Regions from separate parts of the Homo sapiens genome. Here region 2 is linked to region 1. Evidence: promoter capture Hi-C in 16 types of primary human blood cells and fetal thymus (Javierre and others, 2016). All regions are on one chromosome and are shown on one strand. The core of a region is centred on a gene start or on the middle of the fragment in contact, and the rest is flanking DNA. Distances in the headings are between cores, read along the strand shown.

Region 1 (7,332 bases), core at 1,560-4,059:
CAGGATTGTGGCTGAAAATTTTGTGTTTCTGGAATACCTTTGGAAATCTTTCCTTAAAGAGGATACTGTTCATCAAGAAAGACTAGTGAGATCTAGCCCTAAACACATTGGACTAAACACCAAAGTTCCTGATAGTGACTTTGGATAAACCTCTTTAGCTCCTCATGCCTTAACTTTTTCCGTCTGTGAAATATTATTTTCCATCCTGTCTCAGAAGCTGGAAGACACAGGTGAAAATGGTTTGTGATTTATTGTGAGCTGTAGAAACTAGATATTATAGTATTGTTCAATATATTATGAGATTCCAGATAAATCTTTTAACAATCTCACATGAAATGATAGGCAGGATTCATTTAGGGAAAGATAATTGGATTACAGGATTAGCCATGTGTTTGAAAATAAATATCAGAAATTGGTATCTTACTAGTAATCTTTATGGTCTTTTAATCAAAATTTACTTACTTTGTGCACAATAATTACTGTTAAAATACCCTGTCTTTTGAGAAAGGGTTTTTTGCGGGGGGGTTTGTTTGTTTGCTTTTTTGGCATGAAGTCCTCCTGTCTGGATGTATAGCCATGTGTTATGTGTTCAAATAGATTGCATAAAACCCAATATTTTTGTTTCTTTTAATAAGAAGTAAATTCAGTTGAGGTGACTAACCTCTGCACACTTGGTAAGGAGGATTTTTGCTGAGCATCCTCATTAAGTCCAAGGGCCTGTTTACATCTCTAACTGGTTGTCCAGCCCAGCAAAGGCAACAGCAGCAACACCACACGCTGACATCTTGACTGAAATCAATGCCAGAGCAGCTGCCAAGGTGGCTTAGCAGGCTAATGTCGTTTTCCATGTTGATCCTCCCAGTCTCTGTCTAGTCCCTACCTTGTTGCCCACTCCCCTTCGAAACCTGCATATGCAGACAATGAAAGAGAGCACTGAAAAGAAGGGACAATGTTCTGCCTGAGGGCTCTTAAAGTATCTCTCTGAATTTAATGAGGTCAGCTGGGCGTCTACAGCTTTTACCTTTTGCTACAGCTCCCTACCCAGGACAGAAATCCCTCTCTAACACACAAACACACACAGGCGTGCACACGCATATGTACTGCAAAAATACACTTGGGAAAACACCTACGCATGGCAAATCACTCTTTGTATCTTTCATAAACACGCACACTTACCTCTCACTACAGCGCGTTTATGCTCTCGCGCGCGCAGACACACACACACACACACACACACACACACGAACTGGGAGAATCACAGGCCCACACACAATGCCACGTACCCCGAGAGATCAGAAGCCTTCCTACGCCTGCAGATTGAACTCACTCGCCACTCAAACCTATGGACACTCGCAGTGTGCCCACTTCCCAGAGCGGAACTCCTTCCAGATTCTAACGCCTTCCTCTGCTGAGCGGGCAGCTCCAACGCGAGCCAAGGGACAAAGCTGGCCAGGGTAATGCTGTGGTGCACGGGACCAAACCCATTATTTGTGCACAGTGCAGGGAGCTGCAAACTCAAGTTGGGCAGTCCTCTAGACTAAGCCTTGTTGATAGACGCTCACGCCCATGATAGCCTGAGGCAGTTAAATGGAGCCACACGCAACAGCAATATCCTGTTTCAGAACTAGCGCTGTGGCACTCCCCACTGCTGAGAGGGGACCAGATTCCCGAAAAGGTCAGATCACCAATCAGTTGCCTAATCTAAGGAACTTGTTCATTGAAAGATTTGGGCCAGGACCGTGGTCGAAAAAAATCAAGGAGCACGACATACTGGTCCCGGGGACACAGCTCCCCTGACACCAAGGGATGGCAAAAACAGGGTCCCTTATACATGCGAAGGAAGAACGGGCGGCTCGGAGACGGCCAGTAGATGGCGCAAGAACTCTTCCCTTGTGCAATCTTAACCCTTGCGTGGTGCATGGGGGAAGCAGATCCAGATGTATAGATACATACATTTTTCGTTTTGAAAGAAACCTCCTATTTACATATTTGGTACCGATTCAGAATTAAGACAAATGGGTTTGTTCTAGATAACTACCACAGATAAAGTAGTTTAACTGCGGCACACACAAACTGAAAAGGGGGTTGGGAGGATGAAAGGGAGAACTATTTGAGGAAACGACATTGACTTCCCTCCCCACCCCACCCCCGCCCAGGCCACGGATGAAATCCGTTTCCCGAATCATAAAAACCCGGTGAAGGGTTTACACGTAGTTATTTGAGTATGTAAATACATGTGTTCAAATACATTCTTTTCCGTGTGAAGGCAGAATTTATTGAGAAAATTCTCTGTGATTTCCTTTTTCAATTAAATCACAGGATAATAAATGGGAGAAGCCTGCCTGAAATATACTGCAACTACAGTAGTAACACATGTCCCATTATAACGACGTGGGCATCGATGGAGCCCGATTCATTATCGTCACGGTTTCCCCAAAAGCAACACAGATCCTCCGATTAAAATATTCCTTTGACATGCTTCTGTATTCGCAGCCTGCAACGGAGAGCTCACTAACATTATTTCTTGGGCTGCTTTTACAGGCAGAATTGATCTATTCGGGGAAAAAAAGCAAGCCCCTTAATTTCAAATATTGTGTGGAGTTTATCAGAGAGCAGAGGTGGGCTTTAAGAGGCTCACTAGTGGTTTCTGGTGGTTGCTATAACGAGCCAGAATTGGGGTAGATTTTGGTGGAGGGGAAAAAACGCACAAGAAAAGACAGAATCCAGAGTAGCGGAGACTTTGTGCCCCCGTTGGAGAGATGGTTGAGTCCTCGTCAAGGTTGCTGTGGTATCCCAGAAACACCATTCACTCCGAGCTGTGACCGCGCACCAACAACAGCAACAACTCCACTGCGCCGGGCTGAGGAGCAGGAATTAGGAGCTCGCGAATAATATGAAAGGGATCCGCAAAGGGGAAAGCCGAGCAAAGGAATCCAAACCCTGGGAGCCTGGCAAGCGAAGATGCGCTAAATGTGGCCGCCTAGACTTCATCCTGATGAAGAAAATGGGGATTAAAAGTGGATTTACGTTTTGGAACCTCGTCTTTTTATTGACGGTGTCTTGTGTGAAAGGTAGGTCTGCTTTGGGGGTCCCCTCCGCTTTGGATGGAGGTGGGCTGACTTGTAGATGGAGAGAGGCTGGCAGCTTACTTTGCAATTTGCACCGATAAAATAATCTGATAATACTAAAGGAGTTGATTCACAGCTCGTTCTCCCCCCCTCAGATAGGAAATGCATTTTGCTTGCCAGATTTGGCGTTCAATGCGGTGATTGAGCTTGTGCTCAATAAATATTCTTGCAGTATGCTCAAACGAATACGTGAGTTGGTTAGTATAGCCTCTAACTAGTGGATATCCAGGCAGAATTCCTCTGCAAGACTTTTCTTAGTGGTGAGGATTACCTTGATTTCTTGTCAGATCACTAGGGCTTGAGGCTTTGGGTGGAATATATATATTAAAGACGCTGGTCTAAATGCTTTTTAACCCTTTCAGGGAAGAAAGTTATCGACGTGCTAGGAATGTGTTGATTTTAAATGCATTAGGGCACAGGGATCTTCCAAGCACTGCCACATCAACATGAATGTCTGCATGCATATGTATGTAAATTGGGCTTCTATGCAATGTTAAATGTAGGGGAGCTTCCCTAGGACCTGTGGTAGAGGTTTGGCAAAAAATGAGGCTTTCGAAGGGTCTGAAATGCCATGAAGTGTAAAGAACCACCTTAAGGGATGAATGAGGTAGGAGGAAAGTCATTAGCTGACGACCAAAAGAAAATCCCCAGCAAGTCTCAGCGTTCAGACAGGTAGAGTGAGTGTCACATGCACAGATAGGGGAGGGGGTAGGTGGGATGTAAAAATGTATTCCCAAGCAGGAAGGCAAGGGACAGTCAGGATCATGGGAAAAAGAGCTGTCCTTAGGGAGAAAATAGATCCATAGCTCTCTTCCACAACTTCTCCGGCACCCTGCTGCCCATTAATTGCTGCAAAGAATACTCAGGAGGTGTTTATGACTCATGCCATCATTTTTTGAACAATCACCTCTCCATACTCATGGCAGCTCGAATAGACGCTATGGATGCCGCTTTCAGTGAAGCTAGTTTCAAATCCCGGGTGTCTGTGTGTCGCGGGGGGGCGGGGGATCGCGGGAAAGGGGGTGCTGTTTTGGCCCAGGCGCGCCAGGGCTGTCAACACAAACTGGACGCTTCTTCCTTTGTAAAGGAGTGCCTCTCTGAACTGCAATCGGGCCGCGTCTCTATGAAACAGTTTATTGTCCAGCTTGCAGCTGGCTGTCCCCCCACGGAAGGCAGCTCATTTGCATTCAGTGGAAATGATAATTCATGTTTTGGGAGGAGGGAGCTGGAGAGGTTACCTTTCCCTCTACTATAACCAATGATGGGTGGCATGTCTAGAATTTTAATTTACATCCCAAAATGCCAGGAAGTCAGTCGCCCCGGTCTCTGTGGCAGCAACTGCCTTGTAATCCCAACCTGCTCCTTGAAGCTTGATTTTTCTTTTCTCTCTGGGGCCTCAGAGCAGCTCTGAGCCGAAAAGCTTGTCCTAAGTGGCACAACTACACTGCCAAATGTACAAAGCACGGCTCAGGTTGCTTACAAGGTTTCTTTGTCGCTGGCTCGACGGGTGAGGAGCCACACATTTATGCTTAGTTCGCCTGCCACTGGGAGTTGGTGGTTAATGGATGGCCCTGGGGCTGCCTGCTAGACGCGCGCTTCGCGTGGGGGAGGCGCGAATAGCCAGCAGCAGCCCTGGCAGAAAAATGTAAGGGTGGCTCCTGTGAGAAGATGACCAGGGTTTAAGTGCGAGTTTTCATGTGATACCTGTTGAGCCAAAACACATTCGGGGGCAGATGAGGGGGAGGGAAGTCTCCGAAGCGGGGCGAGCATTACAGCCTGACTAACGCTGATCCGCGCCGCCTGCAATTAGAGCCCCGGCTGCCCGCACCTACCGTATTTTCCGAATGAGATGCGCCGATAGAAAGGAAAGGCGCGTTAATTTACTTTGGACTGATATAATCGGTTTAGCTTTGGAGATATTGAGAAGGAAGAGTATGTCATAGCCTTCTTTGATCCTGTGCAAAATCAATATTCTACAGACTATACGTAAAAAACATTTTTTTTCAATGTCAATAAAGTTATTGTCACTCATCGGGCACTTGGAAGGCATCTCCTACATTTTACGACTTGGAATACTGTCCCCAAATTCTGAGAAATTTGCATAGGTTTTATGTTTTAGACCTGCTGTCAATCTCCGAATGATGCCAATTTTGATAGTTGCTTTTTACTCTCCCTTTCCTCATTTTATTTTAATTTCACCTGTCTCAAGGCTTTCCTAAAGCCAAGATTGATGCAATGCCTTAAACATTGTTTGCCCCAATGTCTATGCTCGCTTTTGTCTTCTACACTTTCTTCTGGAATGTGAGGTCCATGAAAAACCTCAGACTGGGGAGCCGTTGTAAGGATTTTGCAGGTTCTAATCTAGACTAGCGTGAGGGTCCAGGAAGTCCGAGGCAGGCAGTTTTCCACGTGAACAGCTCTAGCCACGAGAATTACACCATCTGCCTACAGTTTTCATCCCTCCACCATCTCACCTTTGCGTTCAACAGCAATGACAAAGAGGCTTAGTGGGAGGAAACGCCTCGGAGTGTAAGATAAAGTGGTCTTAGGTAGGCCTGAACCACTCGGGTGGGGCTGAAAAGGAAAACAACCTTTCCTTGGCATTTCATTTCCACTGTCATGTGAAATAAAAGGCTGTGGAGAGCACCAAACTGAGGCGTGGGACAGGGCAGGTGCTGCCTAGACTTGATCCATGCCTATTTCAAACTGAACTCCCCTCCCCCGCACCCCCCACACAGGTACACACGCACACACACACACAGGCAGAGGTTTCTGAAATGCCTCCAGCTGCAGCGTGTCTGTTTAGGTCTCACCCAGATAGAAACTGTGAATCTCCAAGTCGTGCTTAAGCGTCCCGCCCATGTAAAGAGACATCCATGGGATGTTTTCCCACGCTGCTTGTCAGTGGATCCCAGGGGAACACACACCGTGCAGCGAAGGTACCGCGAAGGCACAGATCTCTGGGTAGGCAGCAGGTGGGAGACCGGGTGCGGCGTCGCGCACCCCACGCCAGAGCGTCTTTCCAGGGATTCTCGCCAGAGCGACTTCGCGAAGGATCCACGTTTCTGCGTGCTCTGAGACTCCAAGGAGATACTACTCCTGCCACAGAGGTCTTTTGGAAAAGTGGAAATCGCATCCTCTCCCGCAGTTAGTTGCTACTGGAGAGGGGCGCGGGTGTCTTATGAGGGGGAAGAGCTGCCAGAGGCACTCATTAGCACCTTTTACAGACGCCCGCCCAGGTGGCCATGTCCGGAGCTTTCAGCCCCGCGTGTGTCCCGGGGACTGACACCCACAGTCCTCGCCCATAAGGCGACAGTCTTTCCCAACACATCAGGAAAATATCTGTCTCAGCTTGAGAGAGCTTTACAAAGGGGGCTGAGGGAAGGGAAATCAATGTCTTTTCAAAATAATAACAGCAAACAAAAACCCACCTAGACAAAACCATTATCAAAACCCTTCCCCCAACACTAGCAAGACTGAGAAACCCACTGAAAGGTAACCTTTGTATTTGAGTCAGGGCCCCCTCCTGCTGTAGTTTGGACAGGCGCCCCTCCCTTACATCTATTTCCTGTGGGAATACTCATTAATTTCTTCAAGAAGATCAGCCTCCCTGAATTTTCATGGACAACCCGAAGTTGAAACTGGGTGGCTGACTTGGCTGTTGATGTGCGTGTGTGCGTGTGTGCTGCTGGGAGGAGGACACATGAATTGACACGGAGAAACCTTTAGGAGTCTCCGAGGGTGGGTGTGAGTGTGTCCTAGGCGGAAACGCCTGGCGGGTAACAGCGCTTTAATGTTCCCAGGACTCCAGATGGCCAGTGGCGCTGCGACCACTGCTGTCACGATGAAGTAGAAGTGCGGAGGAAGCTCCCTTTCTCCAGGCGGACCGCAGCGCTGTCCTCACTCAAATAACTTATCTAAGACGCACTCGGGGAGTTCGGAAAGCACATTGGGGAAACAACGAGTGGGGATTGTGGCTCCTCTGCAACGTCCCCGTCCCCCAGATCCGTTCAACGACGACGGAAAGGCCAGCAGGAGGGCAGCCCCCGGCTCAAGTGCTGCAAGGGCTTAGTTAGACTCTGAGGGAGAGAGCAGAAGAAATTAAACAGCATAGTGCCATCTGAGTAGCCAAAGTGGTCTTCTCCCAGCCCCGCTGGAGTGACCAGCTAAGGGGCTGACACAGGGGCACGCACAGGGATTGCTG
Region 2 (7,332 bases), core at 2,571-5,070, 3.6 Mb before region 1:
TGAGCCAAAAGCAGGCAATCCATGGACCAATCAGCTATCATGATGGCTTGGCCTGGGTCAACATTCAAACAAACAAATGAGCAAGCTGAGCCAATCAAATTCTTCTCTTTGGAATTTATTACAAATTTAGAAAAAGGAGAGGCTGAGATAGTTAATAACAAAGAAAAAAGTAAAAGGAAGCTAATGGCTGCTTTAGTGCAATGGCAAGCTAAAGTCATGGGAAGGCATAATTTATGAGCAGGCAGGAAATCCGTAGAGTGGAAATTGAGAAAGACAGCTATAGAAAGAGGCAGACAAAGCAGACATGCAGAGAAAGAGAAAGATCTTGAGAGAAGGACACAGCTTCGTCTTAGTTCCTGAGCCTTCTGTTCTGATTCTATGTCTCTAAGGGGATTCTTAGAATAGCCTCATTTTTATTGAGATAACTTGGGTTGAACAAAAGAGGTCTGATCAGGCATTCAATAAATTTTAGTTCCCTTGCCTTATTTACTTATTTAGTTAATTATTTGTCTCATCACTTATTCAGGCACCTATTCTTTAATTTATTTACTAAGTTAAATAACTCCTGACCACCTACTCTGTGTCAGGTATATTCTATCTGCCATATTTGTACTGAGGGCTTAACTTGTATCCTTCCCAAATAACATGTTTGGAATTATCTGGGCATTAGGGAAGGGGACAAGACGCATGCAGAAGTGATCCTAATGGTGAGAAAGATGTTTAGAGAATTAGTGGAAGACTTATCAAATTGTCTGTGGCGGTGGGGGGGTCCACCCCTCTAATTCTGAGCAGCATCAGCCCTGCTAGCTCCAGCATCAGCCCCAAAGCCAACAGTAAACTGCCAGGCTTAGGTTTAAACTTACATCTTCTTGTATTTCTCTCAACATGCCTCAAGCGGGATTTGGGGAGGAACCTTCACAACCTCTCCCTCTGATCCTGCCCTTCATGACTCGAGAAAGTGTGTTTCTTTTCCCCCTGCTCATTCCTAAGGCTTTCTCATATACCATCATCTGTCACAAGGATGTTGACAGCCCAGCATAAGCCAGCTTTAATTCTATGGGATATTTTCTTCTGTCAGTTTTAAAAAAAAAAAGAAAGAAAAAAGAAGGGGGAAAAAAAAAAACAGTCTGCCCAGGCTCTCCTTGAAAAAGGGTAAAGAACCAGAGGCAGAAAGAGACCATGCCAGAGATCCGCGGGGCCATCGGCTGGTCTGAAGAGGTCGGTAAGTTCAGATTCACGTTAGTGTCCAAATGTTAAACAAACAGATGGCTTGTCACATGGATGTTTACTAGCCTCACAGCTCTGCACTGGCCACGCTTTGAAAGGACTGCTGCTGCGAGCAGAGTATATGTCAGGCTTTTACCCTGCAGTCACCTGGAGTCAGCCCACCTAGGTCACGGACTCCAAGTTGCTTCTTCAAATATGGGAGTGGGAGCCCGTGGCCTCTGTTCAGTATTTCCAAACCTAACAGACACTGCCTGTTTATCCACAATAAAACTGCACAAGCTGCCAAAACATCCAACTTCTTTGCTTTGGGCTGGAATGATATTAACCCAGGCTAGCTGTGTTTGTCATTTCTCAGTTTCCAGAAACCAAAATTGACACTTAGGGGTCTCTTTGATGAATACCAAATAAACAATAAATTAACTGCTTTTTTTAAAAAAAGGTAATTTGTTGGATCATAAAAAACCTTTCAAGTACGGTGGGGGAACGATGAAATGGAAGCCTGGTGAGGAGAAAGATGGCAATATTCTTCCCTGATGTTATAGAGCATCTCAGCATTTCCTCCATCCAGATTGTAAAAGGTTCCTCCACTAGAAAAACCAGAACCTTCCTTTAGGAGAAGAATAAGGCTAATGGTCCATATTATTACCCTCCAACATGCTTTAAAAGGTCAAATCGTGGTTCCATCAAAGCTGGGCTGGCTCCCAGTTACACCGCTGAAAGGATGAAATTTTGCCTTTTCCAAAAGAAGGAGGATGCAGAAGGCAATGCTGTCAGTAGAGAAATTAATTCCTGGCAGGCCAGTGTTAAATTCCCTACTGGAATCCCTGGCTCGCGTTTGTTTAATGCATCTTGTGGATGGAGCCACGAGAAGCACAACAGCTCGGAATTTGCAGCTAGTTCTGAGGCAGAAGGCGCCTTCTCGCCACAAGATGGCAGCAGGAGCCTGCGTTTGAAGCCAGGGCTCCGCGGTCCTGCAGCAGTATTTCCCCCACCGCCCAGGAGGATCTGATTCCCCGAATTTTAACCAATTGTGTTACAGCTTTTGTCTCCAAAAGGACAGAAATAGGTTTTCTCTTTCCCTCTAATTGATTTTAAGTTTCCTTTTGTTCAAGCTCTGCTAAAAAGAAGAGAGCCCTATTTTTCAAGACGTCTATTAAGTGGGCCAAATAATTATACCCCAAAGATAAACCTTTTCTCTGAAAACCACGCTCAATATTTGCTCTAGAAGCAATGCTTGTGCTCTGTCAACCCGCTGACACGCCTTAGGGAAGCAGTCGACCCCCTGGGGATGCTTTGGCTTTCTCCTCCAAACCCAGTTGTTGGCTGATTGAACAAGAATCATCTGCTGGGACGCGTCCTCTGGGGACTGGTGGGCGCGTCTAAAAAGGTGATAAATTTGCCCTTTGGTTTCCAGGCCTCGTTACTGGATTCTCCATCACCCTTTTGCAGAGAATAACATCACCTAATAAGGACAAACAGCCTCCAATGTGTACTCAGTCATTTGTCCAATGAATAAACAATGTTACCGATTTACTAGTCTTCCTTCCATACTGACTTTCTGTTGCACAGCAGCCCCAGAAACAATGGTGAATTCTTGGCCTTTGTGTACGCGGATACCCCTCTGCCTGAACACTTTACCCCAGGCTCTTCACTTGGGTAAGACCACTACCTCCTCAGTCCTCAATCTAAATGTCACCTCCTTTGGATAGACTTGTCAAGGCCAGTTCTAATGAGAGTCCCCTCACAAAGCTCACATCACATCCTACGCTTCCATCATTACAGTTCTTCCAACACTATATAATAACTACTAGTTGATGGATCATCTCTCCCCAAAGAATGTAAGCTCCTCAAAGGCAGTGTCTCCATCTGACTTAGTTTACCTTATAGCCTGTAGCTTAAAGTTGCCTCCTCAACACTTATTGAATAAAATAATTGCAGAACTAAAAAACATACTGAAATTTTTGAACTTACCTTTTCATATAATGTAACTATGAATTCTACCTACTGTTTTTTGAGGTATCTCATTTACGTGGATTTCAGTACGCCATTTTCAACCCAGGGTGGTGGTGGGGCAAGGCAGGTGGAGAGAATTATAAATGGAAAATGTTGAGAATTGCACAAATCTCTGAGTAGCTCACAGGCACATGTCACAATATTATCCGTATTATATTTTTCTATGGGGGAAAAGTGTCTGGTGTCAGACCTTATGGGATCAAGTTAAAATACCCCTGTTTTATAGTCAAGTTATTCTGAAATCTGACCCTATCTTTATCAATCACCTTTATCACCTGTGTGGTATCTCCCCAACCAGGAGTATCTCTCATTTTTCCAAATACATGCCAGGCTTCTCTCACTTTTGTGATTATTCTGACTGCCTGACATACGATGACTTCCCTGGTGTCTCTCTATTCACGCACTTCCCACTCATCCTCACAAACCCACTCAAGTTCTCTTTCTGCCGGAAGCTTCTCCTGACCAACGAAGCCCATGCTGATTTCCTGTCTCTGAAAGTCCACAGTTTGGAGGGTCTGGATCCAATGTCCTTGGTTTCTGTAATTCAAATCACAACTTGATAAGCTCTAGCATGCTAGAATCCCAAAAAACAGGCTCCATGCTAACTGGGAGTGAAAACTCTACATTTTTGCTTTTTCTCTAATTATATACTGTCTGGAAACTTATTCTCCCCAACCAAAAAAATATAAGCTGCTCAAAGAAAGCTTTATGTTATATATCTTTGATATCCTGCAGGGTTTCTGATATGATCCTAAGCATAAACCCTCCATAAAGGTTGATTCACATAAGTAACCCTGTAAATTGACAGATGAATAGTACTACATTAGCCTGGGCGCGGTGGCTCACGCCTGTAATCCCAGCACTTTGGGAAGCCAAGGCCAGCGGATCACCTGAGGTCAGGAGTTCGAGACCGGCCTGCCCAACATGGTGAAAACCCGTCTCTACTAAAAATACAAAAATTAGCCGGTTGTGGTGGCACATGCCTGTAATCCCAGCTACTCGGGAGGCTGAGGCAGGAGAATCGCTTGAACCCGGGAGGCGGAGGTTGCAGTGATCCAAGATCATGCCACTGCACTCCAGCCTGACCCTGGGTGAAAAGAGCGAAACTCCTTCTAAAAAAAAAAAAAAGCACTAAATTCATAGCCCCCAAATCTAGTATTATTTAGCCTATTCCAAGTCTCAGCAGGCTGTTTCCCAGAGGATGACTCCCAAAGCAGGACTTTAAATGTAAGGAATAAAACAGCACCGGCTTCCTTGGGTCCAGACCAGATAGTACCTGAGGATACATTTCCCAAACCCCGCCCCGCCTCACATACACAGATACATGAAAGTCTGCAAAATCCAGTCTGATTTAGGCATTATCCAAATAACCCTGCCTGTTACCAAGATAGTCACTTAATTATGGTCCATTTCCTGAGCATTCAACCAGACGAAAATGTAAAGTGCCATGACTGCTTCTGCAGAGCTCACAAATTAAAAACCTTGAGGTTTTCTGCAGTTTCCGAAGCAAAGCCAGAAAAGCTGAAAGATGACTGATATGGTTAACACATTTATTGGCATTAGGACATTGTTATTTTATTGCTGATATCAGGGTGACATCATTTTTCATAAAGACATCATAATGTCTTTGAATGTCATAAAAGGTGAAATTCATTCTCATGAAAATTAAAGAGAATATTGCAATGCTTCAGTCAAAAGGGGACTAAATGATACAGAAGATAAAATGTACTGGCTTTAAATTTCTGTCCATAAACCAGGAGTGAAACTAAAGATAATTAGGATAGAGATGAAGACTGTAATAACCTGGAATTAGTTTAGGCATCCCTCTAATCTCATTTATTCATGGCGTAGAACTATTCATTGGGAAATCTGTTTTCCTTCATTGGCCAATATTTTAGCTGTCTACTGCCCAAATGAAAACACCGAATGGCGGGATGAAGAGGCTGTAACTGAAATGTATCTTATTGAAGACGGCAGAAGCAACTCACTTCTCACTAAAACACACAAGACCTAGGACCTAAAGCAATCAATGTGTCAAGTCCTTTGCTCAAAATGTTTAGACTCTCATTCCCTCAACCATCAGAATTTTTTTTATTTTTTTATTTTTTTTTTGAGACAGAGTTTACCTCTTGTTGCCCAGGGTGGAGTGCAATGGCCTGATCTCAGCTCACTGCCTCCTACGCCTCCTGGATCAAGCAATTGTCCTGCCTCAGCCTCCCGAGTAGCTGAAATTACAGGTGCCCACCACCACGCCCAGCTAATTTTTTGTATTTTTAGTAGAGACGGGGGTTTCACTCTGTTAAGCAGCCTGGTCTCGAACTCCTGACCTCAGGCTATCCACCCGCCTTGGCCTCCCATAGTGCTGGGATTACAGGCGTGAGCCACCGTGCCCAGCCCGCCATCAGAAATTTTTCAGGGCAAATTCTAGAATCTGTCACATACAAATTCCTTTTTCAACCTGCCAAGGTGATGAAACTCGGAAAGTGTTTAGGAATTCCTTTCTGCTATATGTCCAAATTCCATTTCTTCCTCTTCTCCACCCCTCCCTCAATCTGAGCCCCACTAAAAATTCCTTCTGCTGCCAAGTGCCTTAGAAAACCTTTACATTATTTATTTTTTCTGTGGATTCATTGTGTGTTGGAAGCCTCAGAAGAAGCTGAGTGCATAGTTTCAGGGCAATAAAACAGTCAGAGCAAATGGCAAACTGTTTGGTTTGGCACCGCGGAATCCAGCATGCATCTGTGCATTCCTCCCTGTGTGGCTGGAAACCTCTCAAATCTGGTCCTCAGTTTATCTCCCTTGGGTGACTGGTTCTTTGGTTACTCTATGGGAGAAAGCCCCTAACAGAAATGCAACATCATGGGCCAGTGATTCCCCATTTTCACGTGCATATATGTCTCTTGGGGGTCTTGCTAAATGTAGATTCGAATTCAGGAGATCTATGTATAGGGGTTAAAACTCGGCATTGCTAAGAAGCTTCTAGATGATGCTATGAAGCTGGTTCATGGATTACACTTTGAAATGAAAGGCATTAGTTAGCTCATCTTCAATACTAGATTGAGCTTCCTGCAATTGTCAGTGCTTACGCTTGCCTTCATTAAAACAAATTTGAAATTAGTCCAATTCACAATGCTTGCAAAAATGAATTCATTTCATTACCATTTTGATCCTGTATTTACTTGGAGGCAAAATAGGTATTAATTAATCCGGGGAATGAGGTGGGTGAACAAGGAAAAATTCTTTCATCTTTTTACTTAAGCATTTTTCATTCTCACTTTCCAACTATATATTTTGCTTCCTTGTTAAAGTAGCTAATGCCATTTTCCTCTTGCAGTTTATTAAAAAGTGCATCTTGGCTAAGTACAAATCAGTTCCAGAAATGTCACTGAAGCCCGTGTGCATCAGGCACAAGGATTAGACAGAGCATAGTTTTGCATGGCCTGTTTTATTTTGCTCACCCAAAAGGAATCTCATGTTCATTCCAACCCAGATGTCATTTGGGGTAATATTATATAGAAATTCCAGTAATTAAACTCACTAAACTATGACCAGCTGACATTAACCCTATTGTTAGGTCGCAAATTGCTTCCTTCTCTTGTATGAGAAGATATCTAAGAGCTCCTCTGTATTCCGAACTAGTCACAAGCTCTCAGGAAAATGACCTCTGAAGACAAGGGCTCAGAAAGTCACAGTGATCAGAAAGAAATTTGTATGTGTCTGTAAGTGTAATGTCCACAGGCATATGTACATACACAGGCTACGTGAGATGGGGGAAGAAAAACAGTGAACTTGAATTTCAGATGTTAGCACAGACATATTAGCATCATGACCTAAAGGAAGTATCCTCTCCTTGAGGGGAAAGCTCGGGGGGAGGAGAAGATAATTTATCAAAAGGCCTAGAAAGGTCTAGAGGTCAGAAAAAAATCAAAAGCTATAAAAAATGGCACTGGAAACTCTGTCCTGCATCTCAAATAACAGTTAAATAAATGTATCTACTTTCTACACACCTACTATATGCATGCTAGTCACAAACATACAGAAAAGCTAAAAACATAATAAAAGCAAGATATTATTCAGCTATTATTCACTGAT

Evidence for each region. The method cuts DNA at HindIII sites, captures the fragments that hold promoters and counts their contacts. A CHiCAGO score of 5 or more calls a contact.
Region 2: a fragment that was not itself captured here is called in contact with the fragment with the promoter of CSMD3 in region 1 in 1 of 17 cell types (M2 macrophages); the score reaches 5.4 in M2 macrophages.

What each region holds. Positions count from the first base shown.
Region 1 is chr8:113,432,416-113,439,747 of GRCh38, reverse strand. CSMD3 (CUB and Sushi multiple domains 3) reads left to right here and starts at 2,809. Exons shown (of 71, transcript NM_198123.2): 1 at 2,809-3,071. The coding sequence starts at 2,894. LOC105375709 (a long non-coding RNA gene) reads right to left here. Exons shown (of 2, transcript XR_928544.3): 1 at 7,322-7,332; 2 at 6,618-7,207. RefSeq lists enhancers at 1,375-1,875, 1,888-1,937, 3,715-4,225, 6,155-6,658, 6,659-7,162 and 1 more. The HindIII fragment of the contact is 6,354 bases long and covers 1-4,499 here.
Region 2 is chr8:117,039,710-117,047,041 of GRCh38, reverse strand. It overlaps a transcript of SLC30A8 not described here. Among named protein-coding and RNA genes, the nearest start is that of SLC30A8, 92 kb to the left of the region's middle. The HindIII fragment of the contact is 252 bases long and covers 3,695-3,946 here.